Regions from separate parts of the Homo sapiens genome. Here region 2 is linked to region 1. Evidence: promoter capture Hi-C in human tissues and cell types (Jung and others, 2019). All regions are on one chromosome and are shown on one strand. The core of a region is centred on a gene start or on the middle of the fragment in contact, and the rest is flanking DNA. Distances in the headings are between cores, read along the strand shown.

The links. Contacts are between HindIII fragments. The study calls those that stand out against the background at their distance.
Region 2: a contact is called between a fragment that was not itself captured here and the fragment with the promoter of POLD1 in region 1, in 1 of the 25 tissues and cell types used here (dorsolateral prefrontal cortex).

The regions. Positions count from the first base shown.
Region 1 is chr19:50,381,849-50,386,778 of GRCh38, reverse strand. It overlaps POLD1 (DNA polymerase delta 1, catalytic subunit), which reads right to left and starts at 2,432. Exons shown (of 27, transcript NM_002691.4): 1 at 2,389-2,432. NR1H2 (nuclear receptor subfamily 1 group H member 2) reads right to left here. Exons shown (of 10, transcript NM_007121.7): 9 at 4,605-4,813; 10 at 3,391-4,323. The coding sequence ends at 4,177. RefSeq lists an enhancer at 1,198-1,699 and silencers at 2,419-2,508, 2,539-2,658, 2,669-2,768. The HindIII fragment of the contact is 20,023 bases long and covers 1-4,930 here.
Region 2 is chr19:50,546,181-50,551,110 of GRCh38, reverse strand. It overlaps LRRC4B (leucine rich repeat containing 4B), which reads left to right. Exons shown (of 3, transcript NM_001080457.2): 2 at 2,238-2,569. The coding sequence starts at 2,273. Among named protein-coding and RNA genes, the nearest start is that of LRRC4B, 20 kb to the left of the region's middle. The HindIII fragment of the contact is 9,422 bases long and covers 1-4,930 here.

The DNA.
Region 1 (4,930 bases), core at 1,183-3,682:
CTTACCAGCCAGGGACCTCTGGATGGCAGAGCAAGGACTGACTCTCCTCTGGGACCTTAGCATCACCCAGCACAGGGTGGGCCCCCAGGAGGCCTTAGGCAGTGTTCGCTGCATGAAACTCCACTGCATCCAGAGACTCAGCTCAGGCTTAGCTCCTCCAAGCTGACCAGCTGCCCTTCAGGGTTCCCACAACGCCTTGTGCCACTTTCGTTATTGCACAATGCAGAGCTGGGATCCTTTCAGCCTGTGAGCTCCTTGAGAAAAGGAGTCAGCATCTTGCCCAAGTTGGGGTCTCCAGCATCACTCTGCACAGTGTCCGGTTACTTCAAGACATGAGTTTAGGCCGGGTGTGGTGGCTCACACCTGTAATCCCAGCACTTTGGGAGGCCGAGGTGGGAGGATTACTTGAGGTCAGGGATTCGAGACCAGTCTGGGCAACATGACAAAACCCTGTCTCTACTAAAAATACAAAAATTAGCTGGGCGTGGTGGCACACACCTGTAATCCCAGCTACTCGGAAGCCTGAGGCATGAGAATCGCTTGAACCCGGGAGGTGGAGGTTAGTGAGCCGAGATCGCGCCACTGCACTCCAGCCTGGGCGACAGAGCAAGACCCTGTCTCAAAAACCAAAAAAAAAAAGACATGTGAGTTGAAACTCCCTGTGAATATCAACCACTCTGGTGAGTCTTCCCTGAGCGCACAGGTTCTTCTCTTGGCTCCCAAAGACTATCACTGCTCCGCCATAGCTCAGCGCACTCTGGACTGAAATCTCCTGTCCTTCCCCAACCAAACTGAATGATCATTGGCTCCCCAGTGCTCAGCAGAGGGCCTGTCCAAACAGCAGCTGTCAGAAACACATAAGAGAGGGAAGAGCATTTCAGGGGGAGGGAAGGAACCTCTCTAGGGGGAAGAGAGACCTGTGGGGGGGAAGTGCAGGAAGGAGGAGAAGCGGCCGTGCGTGGTGGCTCACGCCTGTAATCCCAGCACTTTGGGAGGCCGAGGCAAGTGGATCACCTGAGGTCAGGAGTTCGAGACCAGCCTGGCCAACACGGCGAAACCCCATCTCTACTAAAAATACAAAAAATGAGCTGGGCATGGCAGTGGGTGCCGTAATCCCAGCTACTCAGGAGGCTGAGGCACGAGACTCGCCTGAACTCGGGAGGCGGAGGTTGCAATGAGCTGAGTTTGCACCACTGCATTCCAGCCTGGGTGACAGAGCAAGACTCTGTCTCAAAAAAAAAAAAAAAAAAAAGAGAAGACAGTGGCAACAAGTTCCTTCAGTGGAAGGGCTGAGGCGAGGCACTGACATCGCCCTGCCCACTCCTGGCTCCGCTCTAAACCCTGCCCACTCACTCCCCCACTAATCTTTGCCTTCAGAGCGGCAACCCCAACCTGCTTCTCCCTTAGCCTTCCCCATCCAGCCTGCTGCTCAAACCACAAACCCAGGAGTCATCCTGGACTCTTCCCCTTGCTCCTACGCCCAGTCCATCAGCCAGTCCCCCTGTCTCCGCCCGCAAAGGTAACCGGAGCCTGATTCTCTGCCTGCAGGACGCTCTCCCTCCTAACAGATCTCCCTCCTTCCATTCTTATTCCTGCTACAATCCAATTTCCACTCAGTGGTGAGTTTTTCAAAACATGGGGCGAATCGTGTTGTTTCCACGCTCAAACCCTCCCACGGCTCCCCGCTGAACCTAGAATAAAGGAGAAATTCCATACCAAGTTTTACAAGGCCCTATAGGATCTAGTTCCCCATCATGACTCCGACCTCATCTGTGTTTCTCTCGTCCCCTCGGCTCCTGCTACAAATACGCCAAGCTCCTTCCACCTCAGGGCTTTGCACTTGAGGGTCCCAGAGCGGTCGATTCTGGACCACTCCAGCTAAAGCAACAGGCTCTTCGCTCATTATCACGTTACCCTGCGTTAGTTTCCTTCTGAGAGCATCTCACAGCCCCAGAGCACTGCTTTACTGATCTATTAAAACTCATCACTTGTCTACCGTCTGTCTTCCCGAGACAGGGACTTCTCTGACTTGTTCCTGCTTCCAGAAAAGTGCCTGGCACAGAGTACTCAAACACCCAGCGAATCCAGGATGACACCAAGCCCGCACGTGCACCACCCAGTCCCCCCAGCTCCTCCCGGGCCACGTCCCGCCCCACGGTGCCCGGCGCATGCGCCCCCTGCCCGCCGAGGAATTCCACCCCCACCCCGGCCTTTTCCTGCTCGTCCCCGCGCCCTCGCCCAGGAAACCCCTGGCCCCTGCCCTCTCCTGCGCGCCCCCGGGCCAAAGGGTGCCCTCGCAACCGTCTCTCAGATCTATGTGCCTGGCTGCTCAAGCCCCGTTCCCTACCAGGCCCACTGCCCCGAACTCCCTTTTTCCCCTCTACTCACCCGCTTCAAACAGCGTTTCCCGCCACAGCCTACGCCGCCGTGACCCCTGACTCCCGCGCGCGCAAGCCCAGAGCCGCGGCGCTCAGAGACGGGCCACGCCCCCGCCTGCCCAAGTGCGGGCAAGGCCACGCCCCGCTTGTTCGACTGCAGGGCAGGCCCCGCCCCCTCTCTCAGCTTCCGAAGTGGCCTCGCCCCCTTGCTGAAAAATTCCCTTAACTCCGCCTCCCCATGACCTGTCTGCCCGAAGCCACGCCCCTCCGCGCGGCTACCTTCACGACCTCGTGCGGTCTGGGCGCGCCGCGGTTCTGTTCTCTCTCCTCCCACCCTCGGGTGTTGCGCGCGCATCCTCCGCGTCCCCCCGCCCGCCTCTCGCCCGGGGCCGTGTAGGGAGCGCTGCCCCGTCGCTGCCCAGCAGCCAGCTGGTGACCTGACGCCCAAGATCCCCGCAGAGGCTGGCCGATAAGCGGTAGAGTCCTGGCTTGATCTGTTCTCCTTCATCCTAGCTTCAGTTTCCCTATACGTAAATTAGACTCAACAACGCATGATAGGGACACTTGTGGGGCGCCCGGTACACTACTCTTAGGATAAGGTGATCATTGGTAACTACTCTCACTTCCGCTGTTCCCCGCCCCAAATAAATACACCTTTAAGTTGCATCCCTCCATCCAACCCCCCTTTCGCCCTCGATTGGAATTGCTCATTCAGCTCCTTCAGGGCTGGCACAGGGGCAGGAAGGATTGGAGGAACTTCGTCGCTTCGCTCCGAACTCCTGGCGTCTCTCCTTTCAAACTTTGCACGTGCTGTTCCCTCAACTTGGAGGCCCAGCCCCCAGGCTCTTGTTTTAGGTCCCAGCGATTGCCTCTGTTGTGATACCTTCCCTGATTTCCTCTAGCCCCACCACAGTGCCACGCTCATTAAAGTCCCTATCCCCCGAGTCTTGGTAGGAGGATGGTTATCTTGTTCACAGATGTTTCCAGTGCCTAGAATTGTGCCTAACTGTAGTTAATGCTCTGGAAACATTTATTGGGTGAATGTCTCCATCTCTAGAATGGCCAACCCAGTGCCTGGCCCACAGGAGGCCTCAGCAAACACTTGTTGTTCGGACAGAAGTCCAGGTCCCCTCATTCACTTAAATCCTGTTTATCCTTCAAGGGTGAGTTCTGATTCACCTTGTCCAGGGAGGTGACCCTGAGGCTGAGGCCTCTGTCCTGAACTTTCACAGCAGGCGACACACCACCCAACACTGGGACCCTATGTGCCACCCTTTTCCCAACAGCCTGGGGACACCCAGTCCCACCTGCTCAATCAGGTTCGGGCACCCAGTGTCACTGAGGTCCCTAGAAGCCCGCGCCCTCTCCATCTTGCACTCCAGCTCCGGGCTGGATTGTATTCATATTTTATTTTCCTGTTTCTGTTTTTAGTTTTTATTAAATAAAAGCAGAGGAAGAGGAAGGCCCTGGTCTCCCGGGCTAGGGGGGAGAGCCATGGGTCCTCCCCTCCCTCTGTTCAAGGTGCACTGCGTGCTGGGCTTGAGGTGTAAGCTGGGGAGGGAGGGCAGCCGGGAAGGGTCAGTGGTCGGGACCTGCAACCCTTTCACCCCTTCTGGAAGACTCGCTGGGCAGGGAGGGAGCCTCCTGGACCTGGACTGGGGCTTATCCCAAGGGATGAGAGCCGATAGGTCTACAGGCTCGGCCCAGGGCCCCTTCCACCCTAGGAAGAGGAAGGGGTGCCGGCGTCTATCTGCTGGAGGGTGGTCAGGCAAGGCTGTGGGGCTGGGTGGCCAGCCCCTCACTCGTGGACGTCCCAGATCTCCGACAGCAGAGGCGGCAGCTTCTTGTCCTGGAGCCGCAAGGCGAAGACCTGCTCCGAGTGCACAGAGCTCAGCGTGCGCAGGCTCACCAGCTTCATGAGCATGCGCGGGAAGCGCAGCTGGTCCTGAGGGAGGAGGCAGGTGGGCGCTGGCTGAGCCCCTGCCCTGCCAGGCTTTGGGAGGCCCACCCCAACAGAAAGGAGGGCCCCTCCCCGACCAGGCGTGGGAGCCAGCGTGGGGCCCGCCTCTGTGCTTGGACTAGACCTGGCTCCCAGTCGAGCAGGGTGGGGCCTGAGGAAAGACTCTGCGGAGGGGAGGGCAGTGTGGCTGGCAGAACCCAGCCTGAACGGACCACGTGGGCCGCGGGACGTAGTTGGCTCTGCGCAGAGGCTCTGCGGGGCCCTACCTGCGGCCTCTTGATGCGCGTGTAGGACAGCAGCGCCTCCACGTAGGGCTGCTGCAACGCCTCCACGCGGCCCGGCTCCTGCACGTTGGGCCGGTCGGCCGAGAAGATGTTGATGGCGATGAGCAGGGCGTACTCAGCGTCGTCCAGGCCCAGCCGCCGCATGGCCCGCGAGAACTCGAAGATGGGGTTGATGAACTCCACCTGCAGGCCTGCGGGGCGGGAGGCAGCCCGTGACTCCCTCAGCCCGAAACCGTGCCCCACATCCTGGACCCTGGCGCTGCCCACAGTCTCTGGGGCTGGGAACACAGCAGTAATTACAGCGTTCT
Region 2 (4,930 bases), core at 834-3,333, 160 kb before region 1:
CCGAGTCGCTGCAGAAGCCGTGATGGGGGTGGGGGGATGCGGGCTGGCAGCGGGAGAGCTGGGGACAGATGCGGAGGTAGACATGGCAGCGGCAGGCCTGGAGGCCGGGGTGGGTGCCGTGGGCTCCCACAGGCCCTGCGGGGTCCCCCGGCCTCAAATCCAGGCCCTGCGCTTTGGGCCAGCCCTTTGGCTAAGAGGGTGTGGGCTGGATCATCGCCAGGGTCTTAAGAGGTAGGAGCCCCTGACCCAGGATAAGGACTGGGCATTGACCTCCCTGTTCACATTCAGGAAAATGAAGACCCTCACCGCACTCACATAGTCAGACACAGACACACGGCCCCAGCCCTGCAGGAGAAAAATGAGCCCGGGTGGACACAGAATCAACCTCTCTCTCTTTCTCTCCCCAGCTCCCTCTTTCCCCTGCCCTCTGTCTCTCTGCCTCTGCTTCTGTCTCTGTCTCTCTGTGTCTCTGTCTAGCCCTCGCTCTCACACATGCACTCAGATACACAGACGTATGCACACACATTTTTATCTGGGTTAAAATGGTCTTGGAAACTGCAGGAGGAGGGAGTGACTGTGTGTGTGCATAGCCGTGTGCCTGGGGGTGAGCCTGTGTCGGGGGTCCTGAGAGTCCACCGTGAGAGGGGGGTCCTGAGAGTCCACCGTGAGAGGGTGTGCCCCATCACTGCTGAGTGTGTGAGTGGGTCGGTGTGCGTGTTTGTGTGACCTGCCCTCCTCCTGGTCTCTTGGGAATGGTTTGGGGTTGGCCTGTGTTGGGGCAGGGCCTGCTGGTGTGGGTGTATTTGTGTGTACTCAGAGATGCTGCGTGCAAAGGAGAGCTGGGAGCCAGAGGGTAGACCCAGGGCCGAAGTACCCCCTCTGCGCCCTCCCGGCCTGCTCTGTGCCCTTGGACAGGCCGTTTTCCCTCATAGTGCCTCAGTGTCCCCATCTGTAAATTGGGCATCCTAATAGCTTTCTCCTATGGTCATTATGAGGCTCACATGAGATGACCGGGATACAGTTTGCTGCATTGCAAGGGCTCACCCAGTGTTCCGGAGAGACTATTGTTACTGGTATCGTTGCTGTGACTCACCCATCCCCTTTCCCTCTCTGGTTCCATGGAAATGGCGGGGCAGGACAGATTGGGGAGGTACAGCGTGACTTCTCAGAGGGCCCGAGTCCCCGCTGTCTGCTTTCCTCCCAGAACCCAGGCAGAGTCCCTGGACCCCCTTCCCTTCCCCATCCCCTCCCCGAGAACCAAGCTCGGTCCTGCGGCAGCAGCTGGCATGAGTCCCATCGGGGCTGTCTCTGCCTGGAGCACCCACAGTCTCGGGGCAAAGGAGGGGGTGCAGCTGGTGGCCTCTCGGCCTGTGCCGCCCCCCGTCAGGTCCCCAGCCACCCTCACACACAAGCTCCAGTCTCCTCCCTCTTCACCCTGCTGCCTCCCAGCCCTCCCTTCACCTGCCCACACCTGTCACCTCCACGGTTGCCTTGTCTGCCACCTTACCTCTCTCTCCCTCAGATTCTCCCATGAGTCTGACTCAAGTCTCTGAAGCTGCTGTGAGGCCCCCACAGGGCCTGGACAGGGTGGGCAGTGACAGGAGGGTGTGCAGCGGAGGGTCTTTCGGTTTAGCTGAGGGCACAGGGGGTGGGGGAAATGCATCTCTTCGCTAACATCCCTGGGATGGGGAGAGGGGGAGGGAGTGGAGGGGAGAGGAGGCTGGGACCCACCTCCCAGGTGATCACGCAGGTGGCAAGGGGACCGGGCGGGTGTTGGGATGGGAGCGAGGTCCTCGCCACCTCGCTTGCTCTTCCCCGTTTCTGCCCCCTCGCCTTGTCTGTCTGTCTGTCTGTCTCACTCCTCTGATGTATCTACCTTTTTGAAGTCATGCAAAGAACTGGGTTTTGAATCTGGACAACTTCTGCACTTACTGGATGAGTGACCTTGGGCAGGCACTTCCTCTCCCCCAGCCTCAGTTTTCCCTGCTGCAGAATGGGCGTAGAATCTTGCCAGCATGGAGAGGATGAGCTAGTGCAGGGCCAGGCGGGCCAAGCTTCCCTCTGCCTGCCCCAGCCTGCTGGGTGGGTCCATCGGCAGCTGTCTCCCTCCCTGTCCCTTTGTTCTGGGCATGGGGCAGGGAGGCGGCGATGGGGCTGCCTGGGTGTTGGCAAGCACCCAGGCCACATGGGCTCCTGTCCCTCACCAAGCCTCTCCCCCTTCTCTCCCCCACCCACAGCCCCCCAGCGTCCACGCGGAGCATGAACATTGAGGATGGCGCGTGCCCGCGGCTCCCCGTGCCCCCCGCTGCCGCCCGGTAGGATGTCCTGGCCCCACGGGGCATTGCTCTTCCTCTGGCTCTTCTCCCCACCCCTGGGGGCCGGTGGAGGTGGAGTGGCCGTGACGTCTGCCGCCGGAGGGGGCTCCCCGCCGGCCACCTCCTGCCCCGTGGCCTGCTCCTGCAGCAACCAGGCCAGCCGGGTGATCTGCACACGGAGAGACCTGGCCGAGGTCCCAGCCAGCATCCCGGTCAACACGCGGTACCTGAACCTGCAAGAGAACGGCATCCAGGTATGCGGGGCCAGCGGGCAGAGGGGGACCTTGGAGGGGACACTGGGGAGGCATGCAGATGTAGCCCATCCCTTCTGGGCCTCCCCACACCGGGGCTTCCCCGTCTCCGGCACCTGTGGATGTGGCCTGCGGGTCTGCATCCTATCAGCTGGAGCCGGGCTCCCGAGGTGGAGTGGAGGCCCTCCGGGCTTTGAGAGCACAGTGCTCCCTGTCTCTGAGCCACCGTGTCGGGGCCCAAGTGCAGGCCACCTGCCCAGCCCCCCCGGCACAGGACAGGCGGGTCGGCCTAGGCCGAGCCCTGGAGTCCCTGGGGTGTGGAGAGCAACCCTTTCACAGGGACCCCTGTGGCATCTGCACCACCACACCCTCTCGTGGCCTTGGGAAGGTGACGGCATGATTCTGAGCCTCAGTTTCTTCATCTGAAAAGCGGGGACAATGCAAGCCCCTGCGTTGAGGTGTTGCTGTGAGGGCTGATGGGTCTGGTACTTATTGGGGCGTTAGCTTGTGTGCTGGCACCTGGCGAGTGGTCAGAGGACAGGAGGCGTTTCCATGGTCATTTGCCGGGCAGTGCAGGGTTTGCGTCCCCATTTCCTGGAGCTGGTGTGAGAATTGGAGAGCAGAGAGGCTGAGAACGCTGTGGTGCTTGGCGCCATGGTGGCCTGTGGCTGGTGCTCAGGATGGGGCAGCTGCCACTCAATTAATGATGACTCTGATTAGGATAGGCCGTAAGCGAGGGCTTGGGGGGACAGAGCTGTGCTATTAGAAAGCAGGGCTTCTCAACCTCTGCCCTATTGACATTTGGGGCCTGCCCTATCATCCTTTGGCGGGCAGGGTGGGGGGCTCTGTCCTGTGTGCTGTAGGATGTTTACCAGCATTTCCGGCCACTAGATGCCAGTAGCACCCCACCCCCAGTTCCAAAAATATCTCCAGGCATTGCCAGTGATTCCCAGGGGATCATTACCCCAGGCTGATTTGGTCCAACTCCTGCCTCCAAGCAAGCCTCCTCCTGTTCCAGCCTGTAAAGCTGGGAGAGAAGAGGGTGCCGATGCCAGAGGTCCCAGCCCCTCCAGATCTAATCTTCCAGATGTAACAGCTCCCGTAAGAAATGCGGCTGCTTTTCTGCCTGGTCTGTCCCTGGGAAAGGGTGGGAGGACTTGGCTGCTCCCATCTGACCATCCTGAGAGCCAGATTCAGGGAAGAAAAGGGACCTCTCAGGGGAGCAGTCCCTTCCTGGTGGCTGTGGGGCAAGGGCCAGCGAAGGGGTCCAGAAACGTCAGGGGCGTCGTCACATCACCACCCCCCGCTCCCGCAGGGCCTTGTCCCTCTGTCCACGCCCACCTCCCACAGGCTCCCATGTCTGCCAGTTTGCTTTGAGTCTGCCCTGCATCTCCCTAGTTGCAGTCTCCACCGATCCATCCACATCTCCCTTGAGCAGGTGACATTCCGCACTGTGCGGTCCCCATGCACCTGCCCCCGGCTTCCCTGCACTCCATCCTTCCCCCACTTATACACGTGACGTTCAACAGACACCGGCAGCACCGGCTCTGCACCAAGCCCTGTCCTGGGTGGTGACCGAGCCAGGCAAAGCCCAGCCCTAGCCCCGGCAGCTCACATTCTAGTGGGGAAGAAATGAGGAGGAAAAGGAGCCAGTGGCTGGGACGGCACGCCAGGGAAACGCGCTTTGCAGAAATGGCCAGGGAGAGCGTGGGACAGGGAGGCACCCACGCCACTCACCAGCAGCCCCAGGCCGTGGCAACATCCCCGTCGTAGAACCTGGACCCGTTTCTCTTTGTGGGGGGGCGAGGGGGCTCAGTGAACAATTCAGTCCCACAAACGTGCTGAGCGCCACCAGCGGACGTACATTCATTTATGATAAGTCATGCACAGGCCCGCTCCCTCCGTATATCATGCACCTGGTAAAGCACACACCCAAGGTGGACATTGTCAAAGGGTGAAAAGCATCAATAGGGATCCAGACGCCTCTATTTCTCATCCTCCCCACCCAGGGGTTCTTGCACCGCCCCCTGCCCCACCCAGAGACATGGATGGAGGGTGTGTTCGTCCAGTCCACGAGAGTGGATGCTTGTGAGTGTTTGTCAGTGGGCTTGGCCTCCCTCAGTGGACACATCCCAGACAGCAAGAGGCATGGACCACGTCGAGGGTAATCAGAGGCTCTTTATTTTTGTATTTATTTATTTATTTATTTTGAGACAGAGTCTCGCTCTGTCTCCCAGGCTGGAGTGCAGTGGCGCAACGTTGGCTCATTGTAACCTCCACCTCCCGGGTTCAAGCGAGTCTTCCGCCTCAGTCTCTTGAGTAGCTGGGATTACAGGCGCCTGCTGCCACGCTCAGCAAATTTTT